Regions from separate parts of the Homo sapiens genome. Here region 2 is linked to region 1. Evidence: promoter capture Hi-C in human tissues and cell types (Jung and others, 2019). All regions are on one chromosome and are shown on one strand. Each heading gives the region's core, a stretch centred on a gene start or on the middle of the fragment in contact. The rest is flanking DNA. Distances are from core to core; before and after follow the strand shown.

Region 1 (4,019 bases), core at 505-3,004:
CTAAATATTGTTGCTGAATAACTCGATGTATCAGTTAAATTAGTTAAAGGGAAGCCCCTGTTTTGCATGTGGCTATCCACTCAACCACTCCAAAACAATTCGTCAATCACCTGTTCATGGTTTGGGCAAAGTAACCATCTGCCTTTCAATTCTGAAGAGACATTCTGCTAGAATCATGGAATTATTTATAATAAAAACTTACTCGGTTGAATTCTCCTGTTGACATAATAATAAAAATATATAAGATGATATTTTAAATTGTCTAGGATAATTTAATGATGAGGCGCTGCCACTGAATGATGAGGTTCAGTATTTCTTGACAGCTGTGTGTCTGGATATTATTTTATAACCTTACAACTGCTCAGGTATACAGTGAAGATCAAGCAAACTAATACCTGCTTGGCATGGTTGCATTTTTCCTGTTTTGGTCATGTATAGTGTAATTTAAAACTGTAAACACATTTTCAGAATCTACTCTATTTGAATTTTTCCCCCTCAGTATGTAAGGTAATTTTCTAGCTGAGCAGTTTGTGAATGAGCTTCAAAATACTCGATGAGAAATTGAGAATCATGAAATGGTCGCAGAATCAGCCAGAAGTATGTCAGTTCCCTCTCCAGAGAGTACAGAGAAATGTGTATAAGAGATATCAGGTACTCTGAAGTACAGAGGTTCTAAATACACTGTGGTCCCGATGTAGCAAAAAACAAATAATGATGTTAAAAACATAAGAAAATACTTATAAAATGCTGAAGGTCTTTTTTGAAAAATGATTTGCCATTATGTCCTATATCACACATATTTCCTCCTTGTTAAATGTATCACCAAATGATCAATAACCTTAAAATAATTTGGAAATGCATATTATATAACCCACAGCAGATCTGGTAATCTATCTCTTTCATTTGTCCCAGATTAGTTTTGTGGTAGGAAACTCAAATGGCTGTACCATGAGAGGCAGGCCATTAAAACATTTAAATGGTTTTACAGTGGTATTTTTCAAATGAAGAATGAAGTTCATAAATTTCAGCGTCAGTGGAGAAATGAGTGAGGGGGGTCGGCATCTCTGGAAGCTCTTTGAAAATAAAGCATTCATTATTTTGTTGTAAAAATCAGATATCTATAAAGCCATTTATAAAATAACTAGTTGGACATCTAGCACACCTACTTATTTTCATTTGAAAATTTAGCCATGCTAAGATGCATTTGAGGTTAAAACATTTCTTTCCTTCCTCTTTTCACGTAACCTCTCACGGTCTGAGGACCAGAGACTTGTTTAGAACTTACCGAAGTTTCCCAAAGCAAAACCACGCACAAGCTCCTAATTCAGCTGCCAGATCTGTGTGCAGCTTCGTTCAGCTTCTCACTACGCTAGGCATCACTTTATTAATCATGTATGAATTTCTGTGCATGCACCCTGAAGCGATCACACACACGCGGTGCAATCCCAATCAAAAACGGAAGCCTTACCTGATGGCAGAAAAGGCAGCTGCAGGAGCAGCAGCACCGACGGCCGCAGCAGGGTGCCAACAGCTCAGCCTTGCGCGGAAGGTGAGACCCTTCTCTTCTGTTTCCCCTTTCCAAATCACTGTGCCAACACACTGCTTTGCATTTTGTCCGTTTTCATTCAAAGAAGGTTCTCCAGGCCGGGCAGCCAGTAGACACCACTTTCTTCCTGGAAGAGGCTGCCTCTCTTCTCAGAAAAGCCTGGACCCCTCTCTGTGGCTCCCTCCACATTTACCCTTCAGATCAATAATGCTCTCGGAGCGGCTGGAGCTCAACTGCAGCGGCGAGCGGCGAGCCAATGGGGGCCCAGGATTCCCTCCTGTCATCTCCCCGCCCTCAAAACAAAACACAGCGTGCCTTTGACACATCATTGAGTAGTGAAAAGTAATTGAATCCTATATTTGAAATGTATTTTGTTTGTTCTTTTTCCCCCCTAGCGTTCATTGTAGAATGCTTTGAATGAATCCGAGGACTCCTTAGCTCTCAGAAGACTCATTAAACGAGCCTAGCAGCGGGTGAAGATTAGGCGCTGAGAAAGTGATAGCACCTGGGTTAGCACCCGAAGCTTTGCTTTTTAAATGCTTGAGATCTATTGCATATCAGAGAACTGTCACCTGGGAGGAAAAAATCTTGGGTTCTATTAGTCTTTCCTCCACTAAGTCGCTTGAGTCTTTTTTGTGAATCAAGACAATTAATTACGTTTACCTGGAAGCTGTCTCAATGTTTAATTGTCTAAACGAGAATCAGATGCTTATTGGTGACAATAACCATGCTCAAGCAATTTCTCCTAATTCACTTACTTGTTTCTAGGCTGATTTAACTTGGTTCAGAGTCTATGAAGAACTCAAGATTGCTAAGACTATATACATTAGTCTGGTCTGTTTTAATTTTGTCATGTTTAAATATTGTAAGATTTTAAAAATTAATGTTAATTTCTCTTTATATGAGAGAATTTATTAATAATTACCTAAAACTTTATAGAATATTATAATGGCAATAAAATATTACAATGAAAAGTGTTATTGTTGAAAACCTATTCCTCCAAAAGCCACAAAACAACTTTGCATTCTTTAACCATGATTATCTTTCTTTGTGTTTCACTATTAAAGTGCTAACTATTGAATAAACATTTGCTTAAATATATTCACCAAGAATCGTGTATTTTCTAAGACTCTAAGTCATTTTATTATTCAGACATCAAGAATGCCACAATATTTCAGATAATCATTTAATTTTGTTCTATAAAAAATCTCAAGAGTACAGAGTCTCAATACAGTTTTAAAAATATGTCTCCCTACAGGAGGACTGTACACAAATAACAATGTCTTTTCAATGCTAGTGTTGAAAAAGAATAAAATTATTGGGACTGTCTGAAATCTTTTTGTTTCACTGAATACAAATGTGTTGATGTAGGTGGTGTAGCCAAGCTTTGTGTATCGTGACAAATTGAAATGGCTTGGGGAGACTTTACAAACAAAACAATTTCGTGACCTGTCTATCACGTGAAGGGAGGCACGGAAAAATGTAATATTTACACACTGTATGCTGTGTCACTATAACAAGGTGAATGCTAACTTTATTGTAACTCATTTATGTAGCCAATAAATATTTCATTCAGGGCAGTCTCTGGCTAAGTTTGGTCACTTGGATTTTGTGAAGAAAAGAATATGCTGATGAAAAAATGAATCATAAACATTGCTTTTCCCTCAATTGTATAGTATATTTTTCATTTATTTAAATTCCTTTTTTGATCACAAATAATAGGTCATTGACTACAGAACATTGTCTTTGTACTACAGGTCGAGAGTTCTCAATGTGTGGTCCCCAGACCAATAGCAAAAACATCACCTGGAACTTGTTGAAAAGACAAGTTCTCAAGCCCTTCCCCAAGCCTATCAAATCAGAAACTTTAAGAGAATGGGACACTGCGATCTATGTTTTAATATCCCTCCAGATGCTTCCAATGCACATTCAGGTTGGACAGTCATTGCTCTAGCTAAGGGGTCTACAAATTACAACAGAAGACCAGCCACCTGCTTTTGTAAATAAAGACTTATTGAAACCCAGTGGTGCCGATTTCTTTATGTATTGTCCATGACCGCTTTCGCATTACAATGGCAGAGTCAAGTAGTAGCCACAGAGACTTACAATATGAATCCTAAAATGTTTACTATCTGTCATTTAAAAAATAAATGTTTTGACCCCTCCTAGCGCATTGTAAGATGTGCAATATTATTAGTACAAACGGCAAAAGTTGAAGAAAAAAGAGCATCTGAAGGTGGAGTGGAGAAGATCAAATTAATGAAATCATTGAGATTTGAAAGAGATTGAAAATGATCATGTAATAAATTACATTGGTGTGTGTGTTTTGCAGATTTTTGCTGCTCTCCCTGTAGGAGGGATGCACTTCTCCCCAGTCTTGGCATCTTAGTATGAAACATGAATGGAAAAGAATATTGCCATTTCCAAACAGAATATTGAAGAACAAATATAAATTTGTGCGCACTCTATCAGC
Region 2 (4,019 bases), core at 500-2,999, 72 kb before region 1:
AAAATGCATTTAATTGTTTTGTAAATTCTAAGCTACCTATTGGATCAGACAACTTTATCAAAACATTAGTAAATCATTCACAAAACTTAAAACAATAACCCCAGTTGATATAGTTTGGCTCTGTGTCCCCAACCAAATCTCATCTAGAAATTTAATCCCCATAATCCCCACATCGAGGGAGGGACCTAGTAGAGGTGATTGGATCATGGAGGCAGTTTCCCCATGCCGGTCTTGTGATAGTGAGTGAGTTCTCATGAGATCTGATGATTTTGTAAGTGTTTTACAGTTCCTCTTTTACATGCGTTCTAACTCCTGTCCCCATGTAAGATGTGCCTGTTTTCTCTTGAGCCATGATTGTGAGTTTCCTGAGGCCTCCTCAGCCATGTGGAACTGCAAGTCAGTTAAACCTTTTTTCTTTATGAAGTACCCAGTTTCAGGCAGTTCTTTATAGCAGTGTGAGAACCAACTAATACACTGGTAATTGGAAAGAGAAATTAATTTTTCACCTTTATATCCCTAGTTCCTCACACAGAATTTGGTTGATAGTACACATTTAATACATTTTAAATAAATTATGTATAAGTTCATCTTCTTTATAACAGTGTAAAAATTGCTTATGACAAATTGGTGGCTTTGGTTTTTAAAATAAGCAAACTGGTTTTTGCTAATGCTGGCTTTTGGCTTTTAAAATGTGTAATCTAGCCAGGCACAGTGGCTCGTTTTTGCAATCCCAGCACTTTTGGAGGCCAAGGGAGGAGGATCACTTGAGGCCAGGAGTTCAAGACCAGCCTGAGTAACATAACCAGACCCAGTTGCTACCAAAAGAAACAAACAAATAATTAGTCGGTATGGTGGCACATGCCTGTATTCCTGGGTACTCAGAAGGCTGAGATGGGAGGTTTGCTTGAGTCCAGGATTTCAAGGCTGCAGTGAGCTATTGTGTTAGTCCAGTCTCAGGCTGCTATAAAGAAATACGTGAGATTGGGTAATTTACAAAGAAAAGAAGTTTAATTGACTCATATTTCTGCATGGCTAGGAAGGCCTCAGGAAACTTACAATCATGGTGGATGGTGAAGGGGAAGAAAGGCAACCTTCTTCACAGGGCATCAGGAAGGAGAAGTACAGAGCAAAGGAGGGAAAGCTTCTCATAAAACCATCAGATCTTGTGAGAACTCATTCACTATCGCAAGAACAGCATGGGGATAACTGCCCCCATGATTCAATTACCTCCCACCAGGTCCCTCTCACGATATGTGGGGATTATGGGACCTACAATTCAAGATGAGAGTTGGGTGGGAACACAGCCAAACCATATCAGCTATAATCACACCACTACACTCTGGCGTAGGTGACAGAATGAGACCCTGTTTCTCTCTTTTTTTTAAGTGTGATCTATAGACAAATATTTATTTATGACTTTTATAAAAGAACTTTTCCAAATACTTGTGGTATAAATATTTGCTTTAGTAGTCTGTAAATAGTAATTTTAGCAGTAATAGGAACAGCTCACTGTCAGCTGAAACACAATCATTACTGACACAATAGGAGTACTGGAGGAAAAGCAAACACCCTATAACCTTACCCATTCCTATAAGTCCTCTCTCTTCACTATAAATGTGACACACTGATGAAAAGAATGACTATTTGAATGAACTGTGCATGATCAGGATAAGTCAGCTGATTATTTCAAATCCTTGAGTTGTTACATTTTTAAATATATTTTGAATCCTCTATAAATATAAAGTGTGCATTCCAATTTTGTACGATGTTATTCAAAGTGCTGCACTCAAGAAAAAAATGAATCTTGATTTTTCTAAGCAAAGCTTTACAGCTCCTAACCGTGGCAAGAAGCTTGGTCAAATCTAATCTCATTAATCATCCCAAAGATTAAATATTTTTGCATGGTCTAGAATTGATACACATTTTCAGTTTCAAAAACAGGAATTGAAATTGGAAAGTGCCTGGGGCACAGGATAAGTATAATTTATATGACTGTGATGAGGCTTTTGCCGATGCCCCTTTTCTTCTTCTTTCTGTCTATTTCATTTCTTTGGCTCTGCAGTTACTAAGCCAACAACCCCCAAGTCTCCTCCCACCACAGGACTCTTATTTCTCATTTCTCCCCTTGCACTGACCTATCTTCCTGCATTTTAGTTCCAACCTAGAACTGAAAAGCTTTGTTAGCTGTTATTCTCAGCAGTAATGGGCAGCTTTCCTTTGGAAGTAAGTGACTGCAATTGCCCCCTAATAGGTTCTGTACTCTTTAGTCCAGAGTAACTGAATCTATTAATTTCCCCTGCTTCTTCGGCCAGAATGCACTTCCCATGAAAGGATGGTGAGGGGAGGGATCCAAGCTTCTAGGGATACTATTGAATAGCAGACAAGGGATTGGAGGAAATGGTAAAGATAATTTTTCAAGAAAATTGTTAGAAAAGAAATTGGTACTCAAGACCTTGGGAGTCCACCTCTTTCAATAGTGTGTCCTGGGTGTGAGACATGCAAAGAAGATCACTTTGGAACTTTAAGATTTAATGACTGACTTTCTTGGTTTCCAGCTTACATGGGGACTGTGGCCCCTTTGTTTGGCCAATTTCTCCCATTTGGAATGGGAACATTCCCCATTACCCAATGTCTGTACCCCACATTGTATTGTTGAATTAACTAACTTGTTTTTGATATTACAGGCTCATAGGCAGAAGGGACTCACCTTGTCTCAAATGAGACTTTGGACTTGGACTTTTGGGTTAATGCTGCAATGAGTTAAGACCTTGGGGGACTGTTGGGAAGACATGATTGGCTTTGAAATGTGAAAAGAACATGAGATTTGGGAGGGAACAGGTGAAGAATAATATGGTTTGGCTCTGTGTTCCCACCCAAATATCATCGTGAATTGTAATCCCCAGGTGCCCAAGGTAGGACCCGGTGGGAAGTGACTGGATCATGGGGGTGGTTTCCCCCGTGCTGTTCTCATGATAGTGAAAGAGTTCTCATGAGATCTGATGGTTTAAAAGTAGCAGTTTCCCCAGCGTTCTCTCTCTCCTGCTGCCCTGTGAAGAGGGTACTTGCTTCTCTTTTGCTTTCCGTCATAATTGTAAGTTTCCTGAGGCCTTCCCAGCCATGCAAAACTGTGAGTCAATTAAACCTCTTTTATTTATAAACTACCCAGTCTTAGGTAATATCTTTACAGAAGTGTGAAAACAGACTAATAGAATAGGTTTCTTTGATCCTTGAGATTCTTATCTATGACCTAGGTTAACTATTCATTGACAATCATAAATTTGACTTCAGTTTGATGATATCCTCCAAGAAATTTTTGAAAAAGGATTATCATTTGTCTGCTTGTTTCTTACCTGCTTTTAATTACATATCGTATGTGGAAACCATGCACAGGATTTGGTGGAGCAGCATACCTAGAACATGCATTAGAGGGCATATGTCAAGTCTTCACAATGAAACAAACAAATCAATGATGGAATATTCATTCACATACATTAAATAAAAACTTTCATTTACTTCTAAATACTTCCTGCTAGCAACATTCACTTACATTTAAAAAGTATTATATCTGGATCTCCTCATTTTTCAAGGATGAAATAAAAGCAAAGGGATGTAGATCTAGGTGCCATTTTATTGCTTTATATAAATTAAGGAATGCTGTGTGGCTAATTCATAATACAATGCAAAGAATAAATTTTGGTAATTTCAATATCATATGAAAATGACTAGGTTTTGCTTTTAGGACCTAGGCTCAAAACTGAAGCCACATTTTGGATCTTTTTAATGTTGTAACATATTTATAAATATGCACGTGCCACTTTAAATGTTGTATCAGTAGTAATGTTCATAAAATACCATGGAAAAGATCCACTTTGTTTATAAATACATGAGACACACTATCCCAGTGAATTGCATCCTGAGGTAAAGGCAAAGCTGTGAGATGAATGGTAATGAGTTCAGCTCAGTTCCCTCGACCTTTGCTTAGTTTCACGGCTCACACTGGCTTTAATAAACCCGGTAGA

The links. The method cuts DNA at HindIII sites, captures the fragments that hold promoters and counts their contacts. A contact is called where the count stands out against the background at its distance.
Region 2: a contact is called between a fragment that was not itself captured here and the fragment with the promoter of CDH12 in region 1, in 3 of the 25 tissues and cell types used here (aorta, dorsolateral prefrontal cortex and stomach).

Annotation. Positions count from the first base shown.
Region 1 is chr5:22,851,590-22,855,608 of GRCh38, forward strand. It overlaps CDH12 (cadherin 12), which reads right to left and starts at 1,755. Exons shown (of 15, transcript NM_004061.5): 1 at 1,469-1,755. The HindIII fragment of the contact is 14,494 bases long and covers 1-2,500 here.
Region 2 is chr5:22,779,404-22,783,422 of GRCh38, forward strand. All of the region lies in intron 1 of CDH12 (cadherin 12), which reads right to left. Among named protein-coding and RNA genes, the nearest start is that of CDH12, 72 kb to the right of the region's middle. The HindIII fragment of the contact is 4,411 bases long and covers 1-3,955 here.